Linked DNA regions of Homo sapiens: all the other regions are linked to region 1. Evidence: promoter capture Hi-C in human tissues and cell types (Jung and others, 2019). All regions are on one chromosome and are shown on one strand. The core of a region is centred on a gene start or on the middle of the fragment in contact, and the rest is flanking DNA. Distances in the headings are between cores, read along the strand shown.

What was found. The method cuts DNA at HindIII sites, captures the fragments that hold promoters and counts their contacts. A contact is called where the count stands out against the background at its distance.
Region 2: a contact is called between a fragment that was not itself captured here and the fragment with the promoter of SIX2 in region 1, in 2 of the 25 tissues and cell types used here (H1 embryonic stem cells and mesendoderm cells).
Region 3: a fragment that was not itself captured here is called in contact with the fragment with the promoter of SIX2 in region 1 in 2 of the 25 tissues and cell types used here (mesendoderm cells and thymus).
Region 4: a fragment that was not itself captured here is called in contact with the fragment with the promoter of SIX2 in region 1 in 1 of the 25 tissues and cell types used here (neural progenitor cells).

Annotation. Positions count from the first base shown.
Region 1 is chr2:45,007,873-45,011,067 of GRCh38, forward strand. SIX2 (SIX homeobox 2) reads right to left here and starts at 1,580. Exons shown (of 2, transcript NM_016932.5): 1 at 679-1,580. The coding sequence starts at 1,238. RefSeq lists enhancers at 275-1,048, 2,053-2,652. The HindIII fragment of the contact is 8,583 bases long and covers 1-3,195 here.
Region 2 is chr2:44,768,914-44,772,108 of GRCh38, forward strand. CAMKMT (calmodulin-lysine N-methyltransferase) reads left to right here. Exons shown (of 11, transcript NM_024766.5): 11 at 3,123-3,195. Among named protein-coding and RNA genes, the nearest start is that of LINC01833, 170 kb to the right of the region's middle. The HindIII fragment of the contact is 4,294 bases long and covers 1-3,195 here.
Region 3 is chr2:45,197,884-45,201,078 of GRCh38, forward strand. All of the region lies in intron 1 of LINC01121 (long intergenic non-protein coding RNA 1121), which reads right to left. Among named protein-coding and RNA genes, the nearest start is that of LINC01121, 55 kb to the right of the region's middle. The HindIII fragment of the contact is 4,686 bases long and covers 1-3,195 here.
Region 4 is chr2:45,154,076-45,157,270 of GRCh38, forward strand. No RefSeq gene overlaps it. Among named protein-coding and RNA genes, the nearest start is that of LINC01121, 99 kb to the right of the region's middle. The HindIII fragment of the contact is 7,800 bases long and covers 1-3,195 here.

The DNA of each region.
Region 1 (3,195 bases), core at 330-2,829:
AGGAGAGAGGCATCAAGGGCCTGGAGTGCCAGGGAAGGGCGGCTATCTCTAGCAAGGCAGAAAACAGGGCATGCGTCTCTTCTCTCCCAGAACTGACACTTCCTCCCTTTCACCTCTGGATCCTTTCTAAGGAGATAAAGGACCCGCTCTCAACTCCATGTGACAACGAAAATTCATGGCCTGGCTTTTCCCCATCCAGGTCATTCTAGGGAAGTTCCAGCCCCAGTCCCGACCCCATCACACTTTGGCCTGGAGCTAAGGCTGGGGGGAAATGCCGGGAAGCACCACCAGCAAGAAATCTGCAAATCCCCTTTCATCTGGGCTCAAACCCCTCTGTCCTGAGGATGACCAGACCTACTGTGCCTGCCTCACAGGGGATACAGGCCCACAGTTCTGCGCTGCCCCGAAGCTCTCTGCTTCTCCACCCTTTTCCTCTAGCGACCGAGTAGTTAGTTGACAACTTCCTGAATTGCTCTGCCCGCTTTAGACAAATCCCTGCTCGCCGGGTCTCCGGCATAGAAAGGCCTAAGCATCGTCCAAGTCAGGCCGGGCTGCCGCTGGGCTGTGGCCGGGCCTGGGGGCCCAGTTTAGGCCTCTCCGGGGGACCGGCAGAAGCCCTGCGAACCCCTCCCTTGGGCCCCGGGGAGCTGGCGCCGAAGAAGGTCTACTTACTCGTACCTTTCCTTGGCCTCGGCCGCCCGGTCGCGCTGCCGCCGGTTCTTGAACCAGTTGCTGACCTGTGTGGTGGTGAGGCCCGTGGCCTCCGCCAGCTCACGCTTCTCGCGGGGTGAAGGGTAGGGGTTGTGCGCGTACCACTCGCGCAGCACGCTGCGACTCTTTTCCTTGAAGCAGTAGCTGGTCTCCTCGCCGTCCCAGATGGAGCGCGGCAGCGGGAATTTGCGGCGCACGCGGTATTTGCCCACGGCGCCCAGGGGTCGGCCGCGCAGCTTCTCCGCCTCGATGTAGTGTGCCTTGAGCCACAGCTGCTGCAGCTTGGCGTGGTTGTGCGGCGAGAACTGGTGGCTCTCCAGGATCTTGTAGAGCTCGCGGAAGTTGCCGCGGTGGAAGGCCACCACGGCCTTGGCCTTGAGCACGCTTTCATTCTTGTGAAGGTGCTCGCAGGCGGGCAGCGACCACAGGAAGCGGCCCAGCCGCTCGATGTTGCCGCCCTGCTGCAGCACCTCGCACACGCACGCCACTTGCTCCTGCGTGAAGCCGAAGGTGGGCAGCATGGACATGGTGCCGGCTGCGTCCCCGCCCGCCCGCGCGCGCCCTCACCGGGCCGCGCGGTCCCGCATGGGAGCTTCCTCGCCGGGCCGTCCGGGCCGAGACGCGGGCGGGGCTGGCCCCCTGGCCCGGCACTGGCCCCCGGTGAGCCCCGAGTCACTGCCGTACGTCCCCGCGCCGGCCGCGGGTCCCACGAAGCTCCGAACCCCAACGGCCCGCGCGCCTGGCCCAAGCCCTCGCCCAAGCCCGGGGGCCGCCCGGGGCGCCGCTCCGCATGCTCCGCGCCCGCCCGCCGTTCCCTCGCTCGCTTCTCACTCGTTCTCCCTCCCGTCTAGCTGGCTCTCAGCTTTCTTAATAATATTATTCTAAGCGGGCATGAGGCGCGGCGGCCCGCGCCCTGATTGGTCCGGTTATCTGACCCGGGGCCTGCCAGCGCCAGACAATAGTCGGAGTCAAATTATTCGCCATGGAGACGCTGTCAGTCACTGGTAACCCGAGCCTCGGCGGGCCGGGCGGCTCCCCCCGGCCGGCTCCGCTGACAGATCGCCCCGCTCCGCGCAGAACTGAGGGCGGCTCTACTGGAGCCTGGGGCGCTCTGAGAGCCTGGGAGGCGGAGAGGGGCCGGGTTGGGGCCGGCGGCGGCGGAGATTGACGGGGCGGATGCCCAAAGAGGGAGGGAGGAGGAGGACAGGAGAGCGGGGGGAGCGGGCGAAGACGAAAAGGGGTGGATCGAGGTGGGGAGAGAAGAGGAGAGAAGGGAAGGCGGAGACCGTTTAAGGGGGTGTCCAGGAGGAAGGGGAGGGAGAGGGGTGGAAGGAGACTCCAGGGGAAGAAAGTTTGGGCAGCTTTGGCTAGGAGAGGGCTCTGCAGCCTCGCCCAGACCCTACAGGGTTCCCCTTCTCCCCAGGTCACCGCGTCCCTCCCAGGCTCTCTGTTCACCGGGCACATTCTACCCCGGCGCAGGCCAGTGGGATGGGAGAGTTTGGACGTGCTCGGGTGCCGCCCAAAGACTTGGCTTTTTCTGCTGACAGCGCCCCACCCCCATCCTAGAAACTCTGGACTCAGCGGTCCTCGAGGGAAAAGGGGAGGGAGTAGACGAAAGAAATGGGGAAGATTTGGCAGTGGCCGCAGGCGGACGCCGGAGAATCGACTTCCCGGAGGATCCCGCCTTTCCTCCCTCTCCTAGCCCCGCCGGCTGCCTGGCGGCCTGTACCGCCCCAACTCTGCGCTCTCTGCTCCTCGCCGGGCGGGGACTCAGACTTAACCCCACGGGTCCCACAGCCCGAGGAGCGCCAGGCAGTTCCGTGTGGCCTCTATGGAAGCTGACTCCGGCCGGCAGCTGCGACGCAGAACCCCGGACGGCGCAGACCCGCAGTCTGCCCACCGGGGCGGGGGAGAGGGGCGACGGCAGGGACTCTAGGACGGTGGTGGGGCTTCCCCGGTGGGTGGTCGGGGAGGAGAACGGAGGCAAGATTCCCAGTCCTCCCGCTTCGCCGCTGGGGATCGGCTCGGCTCCTGGCCACTCCAGCCTGGGAACCGGCTCGCTGAGCTCCGGGATGAGGTGCTTTAAAAGGGGGTCCTGTTTTTTGCTTCTTTGTCAGGGTGCCAATGGAAACATGTGGTGCTGGTCCTGTGGGAGAAGGGCTCGCACAAAGGTGGGAGAACTGAGGATGGGTGTGTTCTTGCTCTACGTTTTGAAAAGCCCGGGGCTTAGCTCCTTCCCGGACATGTCCTTTCCACTTCCTTCAGTTTCCTCCTCTTCCCCCCTCAGCTGCTGCAGGCCAGGAGCTCCTAGGGCCATACTCAGTGCCTGACCCAAGCCAGCACAAATCCTGGGCTCTGCCCTCAGCCAGTCTAGGGCTATGGAACCCGAGTCTAGGCCAGTTCCTTCTTTCCCACCCTTTTATGCTTTCTATGGAGTTTGTGCTAGGAGCGCGGAATGGGAGTCTAGAGCCCTGGGTTCAACTT
Region 2 (3,195 bases), core at 326-2,825, 240 kb before region 1:
TGGAGGACTGTAAGACGCCTGATAATGCCGCTCTTTTCCGCTGTCCCGTCTTAATCTTGTTACACAAATGGTCGTGAAGAGATTCATGAATTTTAATTTTGCCCTCTGCATTAGTGCCTCGCGTCACTCATACACAGCTGCCTTCGAAGCCGAGTTTTTCACCCCTCCTCTTACAACAGGGGAAAAAATTAGTTACTTGGCAGTAGTGCAAGGTAAAAAAAAAAAAAAAATCTACAGATTTAGGCAACCACCCATGAAGCTGATTAACAGTCAGTGATCAGGAGGAACAGCTTTGCCTCTTAAACTTTTCACCTCTCATTGTTAACTGTGAAATTTTATTTCCGTTAAAAAGCAAGCCTGTAATCAAAACGGTGCCATTCCGCACTTTTCTGCCAGTGCTTTTGTTAAACTGTGCCCACACCATGCAGCCAGTGTGCTCAGGAACCAGGCAGCCAAAGGTGTAGCATGTTTTAAAAATATTGCTTTTCAGTCCATCCTTGCAAGGGGAGAAAAATAAAACACTTCCCTCTCCTCCCCAGCCTTTTGGTCTCCTCAAGGCTGAGAATCAAATTCATTGCCCTCATAGTGTGGTTCAAAACCTTTCGGATAGTAAGATAGCAAATCGTTTTGTAAGGTAGAGATGTGACTTCGAGATTACAGCTGGCTTGATGCTAGTTGGTAAAAATACTCTCATTCATGCAAATGTTCTTTGAAATATAATTTTACATGCCGTGGGTTTTTTTTTTATAAACTTTCGCAAAACCACCCTGAAGTGTTTATTTTTCTGTATTTTTGTACATAGCTCTGAAAATAGGCTTGGGCTGGGCTGTGAAGTCAGTACATTGTGTTAAAAACACGGCCATATTGCACTTCTGCTTATCTATTCAAAATGCCACATTACAAGTGGCTGGTGCTTATAATCTGTGTGGTGTGCTGTTGATAATTGTGGATACTGTAAAGGGTAAACAGTCTGAACTCCACTCCTGCTGCTGCTGTTCACGCCGTAGTAAGGCTGAGCGTGTTACATCCAATTATGAAGTAAAGCATAATGCTACTAATAGCAGCTATATAATTTAGTTTAGTCCTCAAAGACCCTGTTTTAACCTCTGAAATTGGAAAATTATTTTATTCATGATTTGCTTTTTCTTCATTTTCTTTCAAGGTGCCTTTTGATATTTGTCAAAATTGTAATTATTAATTGGGCAAGGAAGTACAGCCTGGGTAAATGGAATTATTCTTAAAACTCATAACATTCCCCCATCGAAGCAAGTATTGGCTAAGAGCTTTGTGTGTGTTCAAGTACCCTCACATAACAGACTTGCTTGATTCAGAAATGATCCAGGGCTGGGTTATAGTGTTGCCTTTGAGGGTTGTCAGCTCTTCCCCATTGTGGAAAGGTCTCACAGGCAAGACGGGGCTGGCCCCTGGCCCCTTTCAGCAACGAAGCCTCCACTTTGGCCTCCAGAGGTCAGCATAGAATCCAAGTTAAAAGTGATTTCTAACCCATATTTACAGAAGAATTATTTATCCCACATATTACCTCAGGGACTTTATAAAGAGCTCATTTGAGTCTCTGTATATTAGTGCATTGTGAGTGAGTAGGTCAGCTGACTGCCACTGAGTAATCAACTTTCCCTTATCCCCAATCCCCAAGGAAAGAATTGAGCTAGCTTGGTCCTCTCTTCCCTCTGTAAAATACTTCAGTGAGCTCCCTCTATCACTAGGGCAACTGGCAACAAAAGTATTTACAGTGGTAAGTCCCGGTCAGTGGGTATGGACTGGGAAGTTGGTGAAGCCATTTTCTCAGCATTTTCTAAAATTAGACTAAATAGTAAGGTTGGAGGACCTGTGTTTAGGCTTAACACTCTCGCTACTTTGGTAGCAGCAAAAATCCACAAGGATCTTCCTAAATAGACAACAAATCATCTGTACACAGAACAAACTCTGTCTAAGAAAACAGAATGAAGTCACCTCAGTGACTGTACCACCATCAGTTCTTGGGAAAGTAGATTGGAAAGTGGATTAGAAATTAAAGGCTGAATTAGCTTTATGTTCCCCAGCGGAAAAGGGGAAGTGGGCTCATGACTCCTGTCCTTAATAGTGACAGCATGTCCATGTCATGGTTTGGGAATATGATTTAGAAGGAACATGCACTTCGAAAAGATTCAAGTTAACATGCCCCAGAGGGACCAACCTGGGAGAGTGTGATGTTGAGGCCATTCATTTTGCTTTAGGGTGGGTGGAGTGGGTGGTGTTTGACTAATTTAAACAATAAAGGAATTGACTCCCTGTATAATTTAAAGAAATATTTATTTTTTTATTCTTATAATCTAAAAAGAAATTAACAATTGGCTCATAAATTCCAACTTCAAAAATATTAATTTTGTCTTTATAAATAGCAAATTTTTATTTGCTAGAATAAATATAAATATAACTTTAAAACTATTCCAGCTGAATGAAGAAAAAGTGTACTTCATATGTGAGAAACCTAACTGGATTTTAAAATCTTATCACAGAAATATCCTCAGAACTTCCCTGCACAGTATGAACAGGAATGTTGCTAGTCTAATTGTTGGAGTATGTTCTCCTCCTCAGAGAAAAGAATTTTTGAGTGACTTATTATTAATGTTAAAACCCCTAAGAAGCACCTGGAGAGCCTTTGCAGTGTCTTGGGCCCCACAAGCCTTTCCCTGTGCCCAGATGTTGCCACGGACTCCAAGCAGTGATCTGAAATGCCCGCCTGCCTGAATAGTGTGGCATTGGTCAGAGGCAGAGGGTACAGAGAGCAGAAACTTCTATGTCAAATGCCCAGTCAGGTGATGATGAATGAGCCCCAGCTCTGCCTTCTGTCAAGTGCCTCACAGTTTATAGAGGTCAAAGTGCAGTTTGGGTATTTATGAAAAAAACCCTACCCACCCCCACCAAAAACAATCCCCATGTTAATGTATAGAATTGTCACATTAGTGCCACTGAGAACTACTTTGAGTTGCTTTTCTGTGATTTATTTTTCCAGAACTATATATTTTGGTGTAAAAGTCATCATGATACTCAACATTAATATTGACTGGTAAAGATCCCTAATTGGAGTCCCCTTACCTTTTTCTTTCTATTATTGTTTTCAGTTGAAAAAGGAAAACCCGGACATATATGAAGAAAACCTTCATTACCCGCTTCTGCTTATTTTGACCAAACATG
Region 3 (3,195 bases), core at 476-2,975, 190 kb after region 1:
GAGATAACTTCAAACTTACACAAACTCTTAAAAATTAGAGGAGGACAGGGTACACGTCCCAATTTGGTTTATGGTACCAGCAAAACTCTAATACCAAAGCACGACAAAGACATTGCAAAAGGGAACACTGCAGGCCAACATCCCTCATGAACATAGATGCTAAAATTTATAACAAAATATCAGCAGATTAAATCCAACAATATATAAAAAGGAATAAAACATCATGACCAAGGGAGATTTATCCTGGGAATACAAGGTTGGTTTAATATTCAAAAAATTAATCAATATAATATACCACATTAAGAGAATAAAGTAGAAAAGCCATACAATCATTTCAATGGATGCAGAAAAAGTATTTGACCACATTTAATATATGTTCATAATAAAAACTCTCAGCAATCTAGCACAGAAAAGAACTTCTTCAACCTGATAAAGGGCATCTTTAATGATGAAATATGGAACAGTTTCCCAGCAAGTTTGGAAACAAGGCAAGGATGCCCACTCTTATGACTTCTATGCAACATTGTACCATCAGTCCTAGCCATTACACTAAGGCAAGAAAAAGAAATAAAGCTTTTAAAGATCAGAAAGATAGAAGTAAAATTGTGTCTATTTGCAGGTGATAATTTTTTGTATAAACAGTTCTAAAGAATCTACACAACTACAATTAGAACTAACAAATGAATTTAGCAAGGTCACATGTTACACGGTGAATATATAAAAATTGATTTTATATTTTATTAATTTGCAGCAAAAAATTAGAAAAAGAAATTGAAAACCATTAATTTACAAGAATGACAAAAATATTTAGGAATAAATTTAACAAAAGATGTGCAAGACCTATACACTAAAAAATGACAAAATATTGCTGAAATAAATCGAAGAAGACATAAATATATGGAGAAATATACTGTGTTCATGGATTACAAGACTCCATGTTGTCAAGATGTCAGTTCTCCCCAAATTTGTCTATAGATTCAATGCGAAATTTTAGTAGGCTCTCTTTGTACCAATTAAAAGTCCATTATAAAATGTATATGAAAGTACAAATGACCTAGGATTACCAATATATTTTTTATAAGGAAAGACAAAGTTGATAGTCTTCTTGACCGAAGAACAGATGTGTAGATCAGTAGAACAGAATAGAGGGTCCTAAAATAGATCCATAAATATACTATTGATGGGCTTTCCACAAAGGTGCAGGGACAATTCAATGAAGAAAGAATGTTCTTTTCAATAAATGGTACTGGAACAATTACATGTTCATATACTCAAAAAAAGAAAGAAAGAAAGATGAAAGGAAGGAAAAAGGCAAAAAGAGAGACGGAACCTCTCTCTACCCTCCTTACCTTGTAGCATATTCAAAACTAAAAATAGATCATAGACCTAAATATAAATCTTAGACTATACAATATCTAGAAGGAAATATAGGATAAATTGTTTGTGACCTTGTGTTATGGTTTTAATGTGTATTCTCTTCAAAACTCAGATTGAAATTTTATTGCCAATGTAATGGTATTGGGATGTGGGCCTTTAAGAGGTGATTGGGCCATGAGGGCTCCACCCTCATAGATGGGTTTAATGTCTCTGGAAAAGGGCCTTTGTGGGTAGGTTCTCTCCCTTTGCTTTTCCACTCTTCTGCCATGTGAGGAAAAATGTTCCTTTCTCTGGAGGATGCAGTGTTCAAGGCACCATCTTGGAAGTGGAAACCAGGCCTTCACCAGACACCAAACCTGTTGTTGCCTTGATCTTGGACTTAAGAACTATAAGAAGTAAATTTCTCTTCTTTATAAATTACTAAATCTCATGTATTCTGTTATAGCAACACAAATTGGACTAAGACATCTTGGGCCATATTTCTTGGGTACAAAACCAAAAACATAATTTACAAAAGAGAATAAGATAAATTGGACTTTATCCAAGTTAAGCAGGGAGCAAAGTATTACTTTATTAATAGCTTAAAAACAGGCTTGCCCAGATCCCATAGCCAGCAAATGGCAGAGTCTAGAAATGAACTCAGGGCAGTCTGACTCCAGCATCTACAGTTTTATGCACAGTATTCTCATACAACTCTACTTGTAAGTTACAGTGTAGGGAGCATAGACTTCAACAGCACAGCTGTGCCTCTGAGCTAATTAGCCAAGAACTGCCTGCTGCTCCCCACCCTAATCCTCCGCTTGGACCTGAGGGATGCCTGAGCGCTTAAGCGTTAGCAACACTGAATGAGCTTTCAACAAACCCAGTGATGCTTCATCACCAAAGAAAAATGTTATGACAGAAGTTAGGACCAGGCTGTCTTCCCTGAAGATTTGCTAGCTCAATCTTGATAACTCGTTCTTGCTGAAAACAAGGGTTGTCCATGTGACTGGTATCACTCCAGGGGCTATGCTACAGTGAATGCAGTTAGGCAAGAGCTTACACCTCAGTGAGAGCTTGCACAGGGAGGGATGAGCAGGGTGTAGGGCTGAAATCCACAGTGTGGGCCCTTTCCTGCCATTCCTGCCTCTGCTTTTTTCCTTCCTACAGTGCTTCCCTTGGGACTAGGCACATAGTGGGTTTCAATAAAGACTCATTGCAGGCCCTGAGGCCAGTATATGGAGCTGCCTGGAATCCATGCAGTGGCATTGCTCCAGAGAGGGATCTTCTGTTGGGTGAGTTCATATACCCCTAAGACCAAAGAGCTGCAGCACAACAACATTTTGAGAGCCCAGCCCCCATCAGACTGCATCCTGTCCTGGGGTCCAACAGCTCCTGTGTCTTCACATCCCTAGAGCCTCACTGACATCCTCCTTCATCCACCCAGAGGACTGCAGTGGCATGATTCCAGCTGGACCCAGCAATATGACAGGAGCACCAACACTCTAGCACACCCAGTGTCCTGCACGTTGCAGCACACTGGGGAGGCTACCCCAGGACAAAGGGAGCTGAATGTCATGCTCTCCAGCACATGACAGTCACCTGCCTGGGGGCACTGCCTCTGATAGCAACCCCAACCCCCAGCAGCAGGGCTGCAGCACACTTACACATACCCTGAGGACAGGCTCTCTCTACCCACTGCCACCATTGCTGCCACCATCCAGGCACTTTACCTGGGGATGGGGCATTTCCCCACCCTGCCCATCACAGCCTGCACCCATGCAGGCCTAGGGACAGGCCCATCCCACTTGGCACCACCCCTCTCAGTGCCCAAGCATG
Region 4 (3,195 bases), core at 194-2,693, 150 kb after region 1:
GTCTCTGTTTCAGCAACAGAAGCCAAGCCCAGGGGTCTCATATGCCTCCCCAGATCAGCACTTTGATTTGGGGATCTTTCTCACTTCTTTCCTACATCCCCCTTTCCCCTGTATTCCTCCTCTATTTCCCTGTGGCTTCCTGTGCCTTCTAGATCCCAGCAGCCCTTGCAGGCCAGCCTGCCTTGGACCACACTCTCATGGGGGAGGCCTCACCTTCCCTTCCTCCATCCCTCCTCCCCAGGCCTCCTGCCAGACTTCCTCCCAGCCAGCTGTCACTCAAAGAAAGATCTGATAAAATCAATTAATAATGACTGCCACTATAACCAAACTGCTCTATAACAGAAAAATGTATTTAACAAACATTCTCTCTGAACTCTCATATCAGCCTGCAATATCATTCTCCTCGTTTCACCAGTAATGAAGGAAATAAATATCCATCTCTCCAAGAGGTTAAGTAACCTGTCCCAGATCATGCAACTAAGAAGTGTTAAGATTTGAATCCAAGTTGTCTTATTCCAAATACCTGGCTCGCTCTTTCTTTTCTTTTTTTTTTTCTTCTTTCTTTTTTCTTCTTTCTTTTTCTTTCTTCTTTTTCTTTCTTCTTTTTCTCTTTTTTCTTTCTTTTCTTTCTTTCTCCCTTTTTCTCTCTCCTCTCTCTCTCTTTTCTCTCTCTCTCTCTTTCTCTTTCTTTTCTTTCTGTCGCTATCTCTTCCTTTCTCTCTCTTTCTCTCCCTTCCTTTCTCTCCCTTTCTTTTCTTTCTTTCTCTCCCTTTCTTTTCTTTCTTTCTTTCCTTTCTTTTGTTTCTCTCGCTCTCTCTTCTTTCTCTCTCTGTTCCTTTCTCTCCCTTTCTTTCTTTTTTCTTTCTTTCCTTCTTTCTTTCTTCCTCTCTCTTTCTTTCTTTCTTTTCTCTCTCTTCTTTCCTTCTCTCTTTTTCTTTTTACCAGCTGCTGCTTCCTCACCACTGTCCCACTGAGGGTTAATGCCTGCATAGGACTTAATCTGGTTCTTTTCCCAGCGGAGTTTGATCCAGTGCTTGGACCAGGAGAGTAAGCCAGCATTAGAGAGAGGCTGAGGGGCGAGCCTGGAAGGGCCTTTCCAACTCCCTTCCAAGCAGCCTCAGAGCAGAGGGCTCCCGCTTGACCTGCTCAAGAGAGAAGTGGCCATGCTCATGCAGAGCTTCTGAGGGCTCTTTTCTGCCAAATTCTAGAAGGCAAAGCAAGGGAAGGAAGACTTTGCTTGCTGTACCATTCTGAATGGCAAGCTGACATTACGGAGCCTATAGACTCTTCTTCTCTTCCTCTTCTCTTGATTTCTGGAGGTTAATTCTTCACTGTGAGGCAGAGAGACCTCTCTCAGAGACTCTGGCTGTGTTTGCAAAGCAGGTCCTGCTGCCCAGGAGGCTCAATCTGAAGTGTGAATAAAGCTAGTAATACCTGCCCCTCCCCACATTCTGCCAGAAAGCCCCCCCCCCCCGCCACCCCTTATTAAGTATTTGTTGCATGAATAAATGAATGCTGCTCTACCTCTCCGTTCATGGAGCTAAGTCACCCAGTCAACTCATTCTTACAGATGGGGCCTTAAGAGCTTAAGAGGTCACTTTTTTGCTGGAGGAATGCTCAATTGAAAAAAAAAAAAAGATTACTAATGTGAAATTTAAAGGCCCCATATCTCTTGGCTGTAGAAGCTAATTTTATCAGAAGTCATTTTAGTTTACAAGCAAATCTCATATGCAGATGAACATTGATGCAGGCTGCCTTTTACATAATTGAACTAGATGGTTGGCCATTTGGTGTAACTGGAGAAGGGCTGGAATATCTCCTCTACCCTGAATGTCACTCACACTGTTCTGTCTCATTGCCTGGGATCCTCCATTGGAGGTGCACTACCTTGTCATCTTAAGAGCCTTTGAGATAAGTGTTGTCAACAATTCAACATGTGGTTGGCATGACACTAAATATTCAGATACATGCATCTCCATTACTGGGATTGTATAAAGATAGTATCACTATCCTAACCAAATTAAAGAAAACCTACCCAAGATGAGATTCACATGCTTCTTATTTTCTGAAACTGAAGGTACCTCATGTCTCCAGAAGTGCCATGAATTCCAGGCCCCAAGCCTAGAAAAGGAAGCAAAAGTGTAGAAAGAAAAAATGGCCTTGAAATTAGAGTGGGAAACAAGAAACAAGCAAGGAGTAGGAAAGAAGAGCGGAAAAGGAGATGCTGGCAGTGGTGACAGCAAAGAGAACTATGGTGCCCATTTTCTACAGGGAAGCAATGATTTGTTCCTCATGAGCCATGAATCCTTTCTCCCTGGACTCACCTTATTCCACTTTGTCTCAGGGCCTGGAATCCCACCTTTAGGGATGAGCTCCTTTGCACACTTAACAGCCTTTTAGCAGTCACTGTTTAGCCTGGGGCTGGTTCCATGCACTTGCCAGTCTGTAGGCATCTTCTGCTTCTCTGACTGAAGGTCACATCAGGTGAGGCTGGGCTGTGTACACCTAGTCACTTGTGTAGATGCTTCGTTCACATCTTCACGGCTGTGACAAAAATGTTTTAGGAAAAACTAAATGCGTGGCTTAGATCTAATCAAGTTGCTCAGTGAGATTATTTACCCCAAATGCAGGGAGCTGGAGTTAAAGACAGGGGGTTCATTCAGCAATGACAAAGCAATGCATTTCCTCATTTGTAGCATCTGGCTTCCAAGCCTCTGTTTTCCCAGTTTTCATTCAGAGCCAAGGATTAACTGCTCCAGAGAATCAAGACGATAAGCAGATGTTGCTTTGCCTGTGTTCTTTTCTGAATCAAATCTGTTTGTAGATATTGGGTGTATGAAGATCAGCCCTGACACAATACTCTCAGATGTCAGGGCCATGCACTTGTCCACCACAGCAGTGTTTTCTAAAGCATTGGCTCTCCAGCGCAAAAGAGAGCTTCAGTCTCCTTAGCAAATGGCTACTGCCATAATCTGCAATGGGCACAGCATGTCTCACCTTTAAGCTTCTGCCAGGACTTCTGGACTGCGGGGGTAGGAGAGAACAGAACATGCAGCTTGACTCTAACTTTCAAAGCATTCTTCATGGTTCCAGGATGCTCTCTCCTCTTAACCCTGAAGAATCTCATTTCACCTCCTTTAGATCTCTGAAAATGCTCCCCAAAACTCAGGAAGAAGACTTACATCTTTAGCGTCC